Linked DNA regions of Homo sapiens: region 2 is linked to region 1. Evidence: promoter capture Hi-C in human tissues and cell types (Jung and others, 2019). All regions are on one chromosome and are shown on one strand. The core of a region is centred on a gene start or on the middle of the fragment in contact, and the rest is flanking DNA. Distances in the headings are between cores, read along the strand shown.

Region 1 (4,904 bases), core at 22-2,521:
GAAGCTTTAAACTACAAGAGCTATGCTACCTAAACTGAGCTCACTAACAACGTAAAATTTCAAGTCACACCTTGCCTATTTCTGAGTAAGCAAGCAAACACTAGTGAGACAAACTAGAAGCATGGAGCAAAGCAAGTCATTTCTATGCTAACCTTAATTCCTATCGTAAAGGGGTTGGCTCCATCAAAAAATATTCCTATTTCAGTATTAACACAAGTTTCAAATAAAGCACACTTGCCATTGGTAATTCTAGAGCGACAAGGCGCATAATTAATAAATCCAAACGGAGCATCTTTCTATAGAATACAAAGCCATCTGCAGTTTCAGCCTCGGTTTACCCACTCACTATGCATATGCAGACGTCTTTAAAAATAAATAAATAAATACACAAATAAACTTTATCTGGCCTGAGAGATTACATCTCTCGGTGCTTCCTGTATATTCTGGAAGTCAATAACGCTGAAGGTAAATTTAACATTTCCAACTCCGGAGGAACGCGAGCGGTAGACGCCAAGCATCCGCCCACTGTCCTCTCGTGACTCGGGCTACTTTGACGCACCGGGATGCGGCTCACCTGACATTCGGCACCAACCCTTGCCAGGAAGGAAAACCAACTCCGCGAAAATAAAATGGGTCCCCGAGGAGGCGTGCGGGTGCCCCCAGAGCTCTCTTCTGCTCACACCCCGAAAGCGAGGGGGCCACGCCACCCCCGACCCTCGCCGGCGTCCGCCACCTGCCAGACGAGGCCGCGGCCAGGGACCCGGGCTCGGCCGCAAGGAAGGGGCAGCCCAGCCCAGGCCCCCTCGGCGTCTGTCCCGGCCCGGCAGCAGAGGAAGGAACCCGGGGCCGGAGGTTTCCGCCCCGCACGGCCGAGCCCGCCAGGGGCCTAGCTCGGGGGCCGCCCGTACTCCCGAGGACCCGTCCCCATCGTGCGGAGCGCACAGCCGCCTCAGCCCGACCCGCAGAGCCTCCGGGCAGCGGGCGCGGCGCCCGCACCTGCCCCGCGCCTTGCTGCAGCCCCGCTAGCGGCTTCACCCACCTGGCGCCCTCGCCGCGCCTCCCGCTCGTCACAGCGCGACTCCGCGTCCCTCAGCACCGGCAGCCTGGGCGCGGGCAGGCGCGGGGAGACCCTGCTCTGCCGCCGTCGCCGCCACTGCAGCTGGCTTGGTCGTCAGGCCGCCGCCCGCGAACCTGTTGCGTAGCCTGTCACAGCCGCTCAGGGCTCCGCCGGCGCCGCCTCAGCCCCACAACAACATGGCGGCCGCGGCCTCCGCAGGAAGCCGGGGGGCGGGGAGGTAGGCGCCGGGCCGGGCAGCTGACGGCCCGCCCGCTGCCGGGCACCGACTCCCCACCCTCCGGAGCCCGAAACTGCCCGGGCGTGGCTCCTCGCCCCAGGAGTTCCGGGGCATTGAACCCTGAAGGTCTGCTCCGAGTCGGTCGGGTCCGAAGCGCTCCTCTCTGCCCTCGGGGAGGCCCCGAAGCCCCAGACCTGGCAGCCCTTCCTGGAGTTGCACAGACCCACCTGGCTCCTCCTCCCCGAGGTAACATGCTGAGCTTGGGTGGTGCTTTTCCTGCCACGGCAGACGCCGGGGTTTTGGAAAGTCCCAAGCAGTGCCTGCCACATCCCTGTTGCACCCACCACGGGGTTCTCCCTGGAACCTTCTCACTCGCCGAAGTTTTCTCCACTGATCTGGGGGAACGAATTCTCTGGGAATTGGGGGGTGGAAGGTGGGAAGGAGGTTGATCCCACCCTTGCCCATGGGTCTGTTACAGGCCTCTTGAACCCTTCTCAGGGACCTGGAGGACTTAACCATACCCTCGGTCATCCATTCACCATTCCTCGCCCTCCTCCATAACACACGCGGAGCGCCCACGAGGAGCACCCTCTACGCTAGTCACACTCCGCCGAGCAGTAGGAAGACTCTGTCCCCATAGAGCATAGCACGACGAAGCTAAACTTTCCTCCCCACCCCTCGCCAAGGGACAGGCGAAGCTCCTACTCAGAATTTGTCTCTTTTCTCCCCTCCCGGTTCCTGGTCTCCTCACAAAAGACCAGACTTCAACTCAAGCCGCCACCGTATCCCAAAACCCCAAAGGTTTGCCCTTGACAAGAAGCTTCTTCAAGGGGAAAGGCTTTCTTTTGATTGGGGTGAGGGAGGAGTTAGTGTTTCCTAATGAACGTAACCAAATGTCGGCCTGGCACAGTGGCTCACGCTTGTAACCCCGGCACTTTGGGAGGCCGAGGCAGGTGGATCATCTGAGGTCAGGAGTTGGAGACCAGCCTGGCCAACATGGTGAAACCCCGCCTCTTCTAACAATACAAAAATTAGCTGGGCGTGGTGGCGGGCGCCTGTAGTCCCAGCTACTCGGAAGGCTGAGGCAGGAGAATCGCTTGAACCTGGGAGGCGGAGGTTGCAGTGAGCAGAGATTGCACCACTGTACTCCAGCCTGGGCGACAAGAGCGAAACTCTGTCTCAAAAAAAAAAAAGTAACCAAATGTAAGACTCAAGATTTTTGGATATAAGACCCAAGATTTCTTTTTTTTTTTTTTTTTTTTTTTTTTTTTTTCCTGAGACAGACTCTCACTCCGTTGCCCAGGCTGGAGTGCAGTGGCGCAACTGTGAGATCTGTGCTCACTGCAACCTCCGCCTCCCAGGTTCAAGCAATTCTCCTGCCTCAGCCTTCCAAGTACCTGGGATTACAGGCACTTGCCACCACGCCCGGCTAATTTTTGTATTTTTAGTAGACACTGGTTTCACCATGTTGGCCAGGCTGGTCTCAAACTCCTGACCTCAGGTGATCCACCCGCCTCATCCTCCCAAAGTGCTGGGATTGGCGTGAGCCACCACGCCCGGCCAAGACCCAAGATTTATTTTGGCTTTTAGAAGCAGGGTGAGGGCTGGTCTGGGGTCCAAAACTCATATCCCTTGATTTGATCTGTGTAGATCAAATAACCCCTGGCATCCTTTCATTCCTTACCTGTTGAGGCAGGTGAAGGTGAGATGGCTCCAAACCCAGGCCTATCTGAACTGGCCAGCCAGCTTAGGAGGAATTTACCAAACATCGATGATGATAAACAGGCTTTTCCCGCTCTCACACTCAGTGTTTTTCCTAACTCTTCGATTAGAACCTGACCAAGACCTGACAGACAGGTCCTGAGCTTCAGTGACACAGAGAAGCCTGACTCTTTTATCAGTCTAGGAGGCCCCTCACTTGCTGGGGACCAGCCAATCTGTCCTTATCTGCAAACAAACCACCCAGGCCAAGGATAGCAATCTTGAGCACGTGGCCTCATTCCCATTGCACCCTTCACCAGTTAACTGATATGCTCTTTTGGAGCCCATATTTGAGAGTCAAAGCCCCAGAATCCTTCACAACATAGTGCTCCAGAGAGTTGGTCTGAGAGGTAAAACCTATTTTTTATTCCTGTTAGGCACATAGCTAGTCTTCATTTTTCTCCCATCCTTTGACCAATGTCATTTGTGTTTTCGGGTTCTAGACCTGGTGCAATTTACCCTGAGTCTCCTTTCCTTCTAAAGGAGGTGCCAAATCCTTGGCAGGACAAAAATGGAATTTGTAGAAAGAGATGCTTATAAAGGAATAAAAAAAAATTTAAAGCCCCCCTAAAATAAACCAAAAAACTAACAACCTCTGCTGGAAATCAGGGTCCTGAATGCATGCCTACAGTATCCCAAGTACTAAAACAACTGTATCCCAGAGTTCCCTTCAGAACTTTGAGGCCAGTTTGTCCATCCTGTCCTACTCTATCACAGCCCAAAATGCAAGCACCTCCAGTTATCTATCTTCTCTCTCACACATACCTCCCACCCTGTGTGATTCAGGGATAAATTTGGGCAATATTAAGCATTTGGTGGTTGGATATAAGGAATGAGAAGGAGTAAAGGGTTCTTGGGTTTTTGGGTAATGGTAGTTCTATTCAACAAGATAAAGAATGGAATACAGGAGGGAAGCACAGACCTTGGAAGTGGCTGAAGAAACATTTTCCTTGCTCCTCGACTGCATCCAGATCCTAGTTTTCCACTCACATGCAAAAGCCCCTTCTCCTATGAGGCTTATAACACTAGCTACACCCATCCTCTATCCTCATCCTTATCATTTACCATCTTCCAGGGCACTCAATATATTCCTCAAGAATTTCTGCACATGGAGCAGCCAGTACTCTCCGCCCAGGACCTTCATCATCCTTAGTGTCTTTCAGTGTTCATGATTCATTTAGATGATGCAGCCGCCATCCCAGTTCCTTGACTTCCTCTTCTCATAGGGCAGCCTTGGAAGTGTGTCTATACATTTCCTCCTTAGTATTCTCCAAATCCCAGCATCTTTTCTTTACTTCTGGCACCAGCTGGAAATCAAATACCTGGAGGAGCTAAGTCCTACCATGTTACATTTCTCTTCCTCTAGTTCTGCCACAGTCTAGGCAAGATTCTTAGACTTGTTCCTGGTGACCTAGCTTTTACCCTGGGAGCGTTTAGTCTCTATCTGTTTTCTTTTCCATGTATTATTGATCCTTCTCCTCAACCATATGTATCTTATGTTCTATCAATCTCCCCTTAAGTTAGTTTTCAAAGATTCCATCCTGTACCCCATTTCTACCATGTTTACCCCCAAAACAAACCTGCAGTGTAAGAAGAGTATAGAATAGGTAGAAGCAACAGTTCTAGAGTCCAGGCATCCCATAAGATAAATACCATTATCATATAGAGTAGAAAGACTGAGAACCTGGAGCTCATATTTCATGTTATAGTTTTACCTTCAAAACAATGCTGTAACTTTGGGGGTTTTTTATTTGTTTTTGTTTTGTTTTTTTTAGGATGGAGTTTCACTCTTGTTGCCTAGGCTGGAGTGCAATGGCGCGATCTCAGCTCTCTGCAACCTCCGCCTCC
Region 2 (4,746 bases), core at 926-3,425, 370 kb before region 1:
CACACATAAACATGGATGAGTCCCAAAAACATAATGTAGAGATAAAGCTATAGAACACATACACTATGATTCCATTCATGTCAGGTTTAAAAAAGTAAAACTGTCCTTAAAAGCTACTAAGCCATGACTACTCTTCTCCTACCCACCAGCTTGGATATTTTTCCTCACCCCACTTGGCCTCTGACATCCTACACTAGACAGCTCTTATATGGGCCACCACAACTCCCAGCATTTCTGAAATAGATGCCTCCCATGTTCTGTCCTACTAATGGCTTGGTGGCTTTTGGACTGAATCATTAAAAAATTGTGTTTTTCTTCCGTTTTTTCTGCTTATTTTATTAGTTACCAAGAAAGTTGTGCTAAAATCTCCAACTATGATTATGGATTTGTCTATTTCTTATTTACTTCTGTCAATGTTTGCTTTATATATTTTAAAGTTATATAATTGGGTCCAGCAGAGATGAAATTGTGTTTTTCTGATTAATTGACTTTGTTGGGGAGAAAAGATTTTCTTCGCCCATTGCCTAGATTCATGGCTGAGACCCCTTTAACAAAAGACAGATTAACAAAAGAAATGCATGTGATTTTATATTTTATTTTATACACACACACACACACACACACACATATACATATATATATATTATATTTTTTTCTGTCTTTTTTGTTTTGTTTTGTTTTTGAGATGGAGTCTCTCTCTGTTGCCTAGGCTGGAGTGCAGTGGTGTGATCTCGGCTCACTGCAACTTCTGCCTCCCAGGTTCAAGCAATTCTCCCTGCCCCAGACTCCTGAGTAACTGGGATCACAGGCGCCTATCACCACACCTGGCTAATTTTTTTTGTATTTTTAGTAGAGAAAGGGTTTGCCATGTTGGCCAGTCTGGTCTCGAACTGCTGATCTCAGGTGGTCCGCTCACCTTGGCCTCCCAAAGTGCTGGGATTACAGGCGTGAGCCACAGTGCCCGGCCTTTTTTGTTTTTTGTTTGTTTGTTTTGTTTTGTTTTTTTGAGACAGTCTCAACTCTGTTGCCTAGGCTGGAGTGCAGTGGCATGATCTTGGCTCATTGAAACCTCTGCCTCCTGGGTTCAAGCAATTCTCGTCCCTCAGCCTCCCAAGTAGCTGGGATTATAGGCACCTGCCACCACGCCTGGCTAATTTTTGGGGTTTTTTGTTTTGTTTTGTTTTTTGAGATGGAGTCTTGCTCTGTCGCCAGGCTGGAATGCAGTGGCGCAATCTCAGCTCACTGCAACCTCCGCCTCCCTGGTTCATGCGATTCTCCTGCCTCAGCCTCCCGAGTAGCTGGGACTACAGGTGTGTGCCACCATGCCCAGCTAATTTTTGTATTTTTAGTAGAGATGGGGTTTCACCATGTTGGCCAGGCTGGTCTTGATCTCCTGACCTCATGATCCTCCTGCCTCGGCCTCCCAAAGTGCTGGGATTACAGGCATGAGCCACCGCGCCCAGCCTAATTTTGGTATTTTTAGTAGAGACAGGGTTTCGCCATGTTGGCCAGGCTGGTCTTGAACTCCTGGCCTAAGTTTGATGAGGAAGTGGATAGTTTGTGGAGAAGTATGATTGGAGGGCAAAAGGGGTATGATCTAATGGTAATAAATTAAGGGGAACTTAGCTTAGCCTGTTCGTTCAGATTCTTCGTGGCATCTCTGCATCTTCAAGGATAAGGTTGTTCCTTTCCTCTGGGTATACGAACAATACCTCGGAAAGGAAGGTTTTATGACCTACTTCAGAGGAAGGACAGATAATTTCTTTTTTGGTCTGCTTTGAGGGGAGAAGGGCAAGGGGAGAATGAGACTGATCTACCTGTTTCTGCTGTTTCCTCAAATGCCAAGGTGCCATATTTTAGGGTAGCATATCTTGAACCCTGTCAACCTTTTTAGCACTGTCACATGTCTCTCTCAATCCTTGGTAATGCTTTTTGTGTTAAATCTACTCTGCCTGATATTAATATGGTCATAACAGCTTCCTTCTAATTAGTATTTGCCTGGTATATTTTTCTACTTACTTTTAATTTCAACGTATCTGTATATATTTATCTGTGTGTGTATTTAAAACTATCTCTTGTAAATAGTTGAGTTTTGTTTTTAAATCTAGGCTAACAGTATTAGTTTCTGGTTTTGTGGGGTTTTTTCCTCCTGTTTTACTCTGCAAGGAGGTTTCTGTTTTGTGGATTTCTTTAGCTACCATCTACCTGGTGCTTTCTATGTGTTTGGCTCTCTTGAAGGCATTTCACTTTTATTTCTGTCAAAACCATTCTAGACAGCTGGAATCACACAACTGATTATCATAATAATAGAAGAAGCACAAGTTTGAAATTGTGTCCTGGAATGTTCTTTTGTGACCTAAATTCCTTCCAAATGAAGAGGAGAGCAAACTAAAGATGTAGAAATGGGAATGGGGATTTGTTATTCTGGCCCAAGCTTATTTGTTTATCTTCAGGGAAATAAATTTTAATCTTGACTTGTTTATCTAGGTGAATAACAATGAAACACGTAGCTTTTTTTCCCCCTAAATGACTGAAGCGTTTAAAAATTTTTGGCCAACAGCATTTATTTAGTAATGATTAATCAGGCTTTTTCTTTTCTGTTTTAAATATATAATATATTTTGGTAGAGACAGGGTCTCACCTGCTGGGATTATAGGCTTGAGCCACTGCCCCTGGCCAACAATTTCACTCTGTTACTCTCTTCCTTTTTGCTATTTTTGTCAACAAATATGTTACTTCTACGAACATTTTAACAACCCTCAAAATGCTATTACTTGTAAACAATATTCACTTATATATCATTTTACTTTTTCTGTTTTTTACCCAGTTTGATGTTTTAGCCTGAACAATTATGCTTAGTATCTCTTAAATTTTTTTAATTTTTTAATTTTTTTTTTTTTTCAAGACAGAGTCTTGCTCTGTCACCTGGTTGGAGCGCAGCGGAGTGATCTCAGCACACTGCGACCTCTGCCTCCCTGGTTCAAGCAATTCTCCTGTCTCAGCTTCCCAAGTAGCTGGCATTACAGGCATGCGCTACCACACCCAGCTAATTTTTGTATTTTTTTGGTAGAGACAGGGTTTCACCATGTTGGCCAGGCTGGTCTCCAACTCCTGACCTTGTGGTCCGCCTCGGCTTCCCAAAGTGCTGGGATTACAGGCGTGAGTCACCGAGCCCTGCCTTTAGTATCTCTTTAATTGCTTATCTACTAATGATGAATTCTCTTAGCTTTGATTTGAACACATCTTCATTTTTAAAGACCATTTTCACTAGGCTAGAACTGTCAGGTTTTTCTAGCACATCAGCTCTTAAGAATGCCCATATGTTGTCTTCCAGCTTCCACTCTCCTACTCAAAAATCAGCTGTCAGCCTTTTTCTTGCTCTTTTGAAAGATATTAAGTCTTTTTTCCTCTCAGTTTAAAATTTTTCTCTTTGTTCTTAGATTTTAATAGCTTGAATATGATGTGCCTAGGTGTTAGTTATCTTTGCATTATATTGCTTAGAATTTGCTGAGTTTCTTGGATCCATAGTTAAGGTTTTTTGTCAGTTTGGGGAGTTTCTTGGCCAGTATTGATGGAAATGTTCTCGTATTTTATTCTCTTTTGTCTTTGGCATTTGTGGCTTTATTTACATGTATGTTAGATGTTTTCAGTGTATCTTATATTCTTTTCTAATTTTTTTCTTCTTTTTCCTTCTGATTCAGTCTGCATATTTTCTATTTGACCTGTCTTCGAGTTCAGTAATCTGTTGTATTGGTCTGGTCTGTTAAATACATGTGTTGGAATTCTTACTTTCAATTCTACTGTCACTTGTAGACTTTTCATTTGAGTCTGTTATTTTTCAGGTGTCTGGTGAAATTCCTCATCTTTTTATTTTATCTGTTGCTTCTTCTGGATTTTAGCATACCTTATAATTCATCTGGTCATTAGACCTTGTTTATGGAAACATTGTAGACGTTTCAGATGACATCATCTTCCTCCAAAGATACCTATGCTTCTATCAGACAGATTCCTAATGGATTATGTTGATTTTATTAAGAGTTAGTTGGATTGACTGTAGACTTTACTGGGGCTGGTTGGTTATCTGTTTTGCTTTTAGAGCATGGACTTGAACCTTAGGGTCTGACCCTTAGAAGTGGTGAAAACCTGGGTGTTTACCAAGACTCCTCCACATTGGCAGAGCTTAAACTCTAGAGTCTGTGTGCCCAGCATTTTGGAGCTGCTAGAATCTCTCCTCAGTCGCTGTTTTCTGTTGGGTTCTTTGAATTCTCATTCTACTAATAGCTGAGGAGTTAGCCAATAACTTAAGAATTTGTTACGGTTTTCTGGTCACGTTTCTTTATGGGTCCCTCTGTTTCAGGATTTTGGCTTATAAATCCCAGCTTCTTGTCTCTCCTTGGTGTAGTGAAATGGCTTTTTTTTTTCCCTCTAATTCACTGCTACAAATTGGAAAGTGCCCTCAGTGAAAAAACCAGTGTAAATGTGGAGCTCACCTTGTGCATTTCCTTCCTACAGGGCTCTCAGATGATTTACATTGGTTGGTCTTCAGTGCTTTCACATAGCGCTTTTATGTTTAGACGCTCCTTGACTTATGATGTAATGTCCCAATAAGCCCATCCACGTTGAAAATGCATTTACCCAGCACTTTGGGAGGCTGAGGCGGGCGGATCACGAGGTCAGGAGATCGAGACCATCCTGGCTAACATGGTGAAACCCCGGATCTACTAAAAATACAAAAAAAATTAGCCA

The links. The method cuts DNA at HindIII sites, captures the fragments that hold promoters and counts their contacts. A contact is called where the count stands out against the background at its distance.
Region 2: a contact is called between a fragment that was not itself captured here and the fragment with the promoter of ITSN2 in region 1, in 2 of the 25 tissues and cell types used here (lymphoblastoid cells and mesenchymal stem cells).

What each region holds. Positions count from the first base shown.
Region 1 is chr2:24,359,265-24,364,168 of GRCh38, forward strand. ITSN2 (intersectin 2) reads right to left here and starts at 1,272. Exons shown (of 40, transcript NM_006277.3): 1 at 1,040-1,272. RefSeq lists silencers at 686-1,085, 1,096-1,145, 1,156-1,455 and an enhancer at 1,556-1,705. The HindIII fragment of the contact is 6,107 bases long and covers 1-4,904 here.
Region 2 is chr2:23,990,805-23,995,550 of GRCh38, forward strand. All of the region lies in intron 6 of UBXN2A (UBX domain protein 2A), which reads left to right. Among named protein-coding and RNA genes, the nearest start is that of MFSD2B, 17 kb to the right of the region's middle. The HindIII fragment of the contact is 5,804 bases long and covers 1-4,746 here.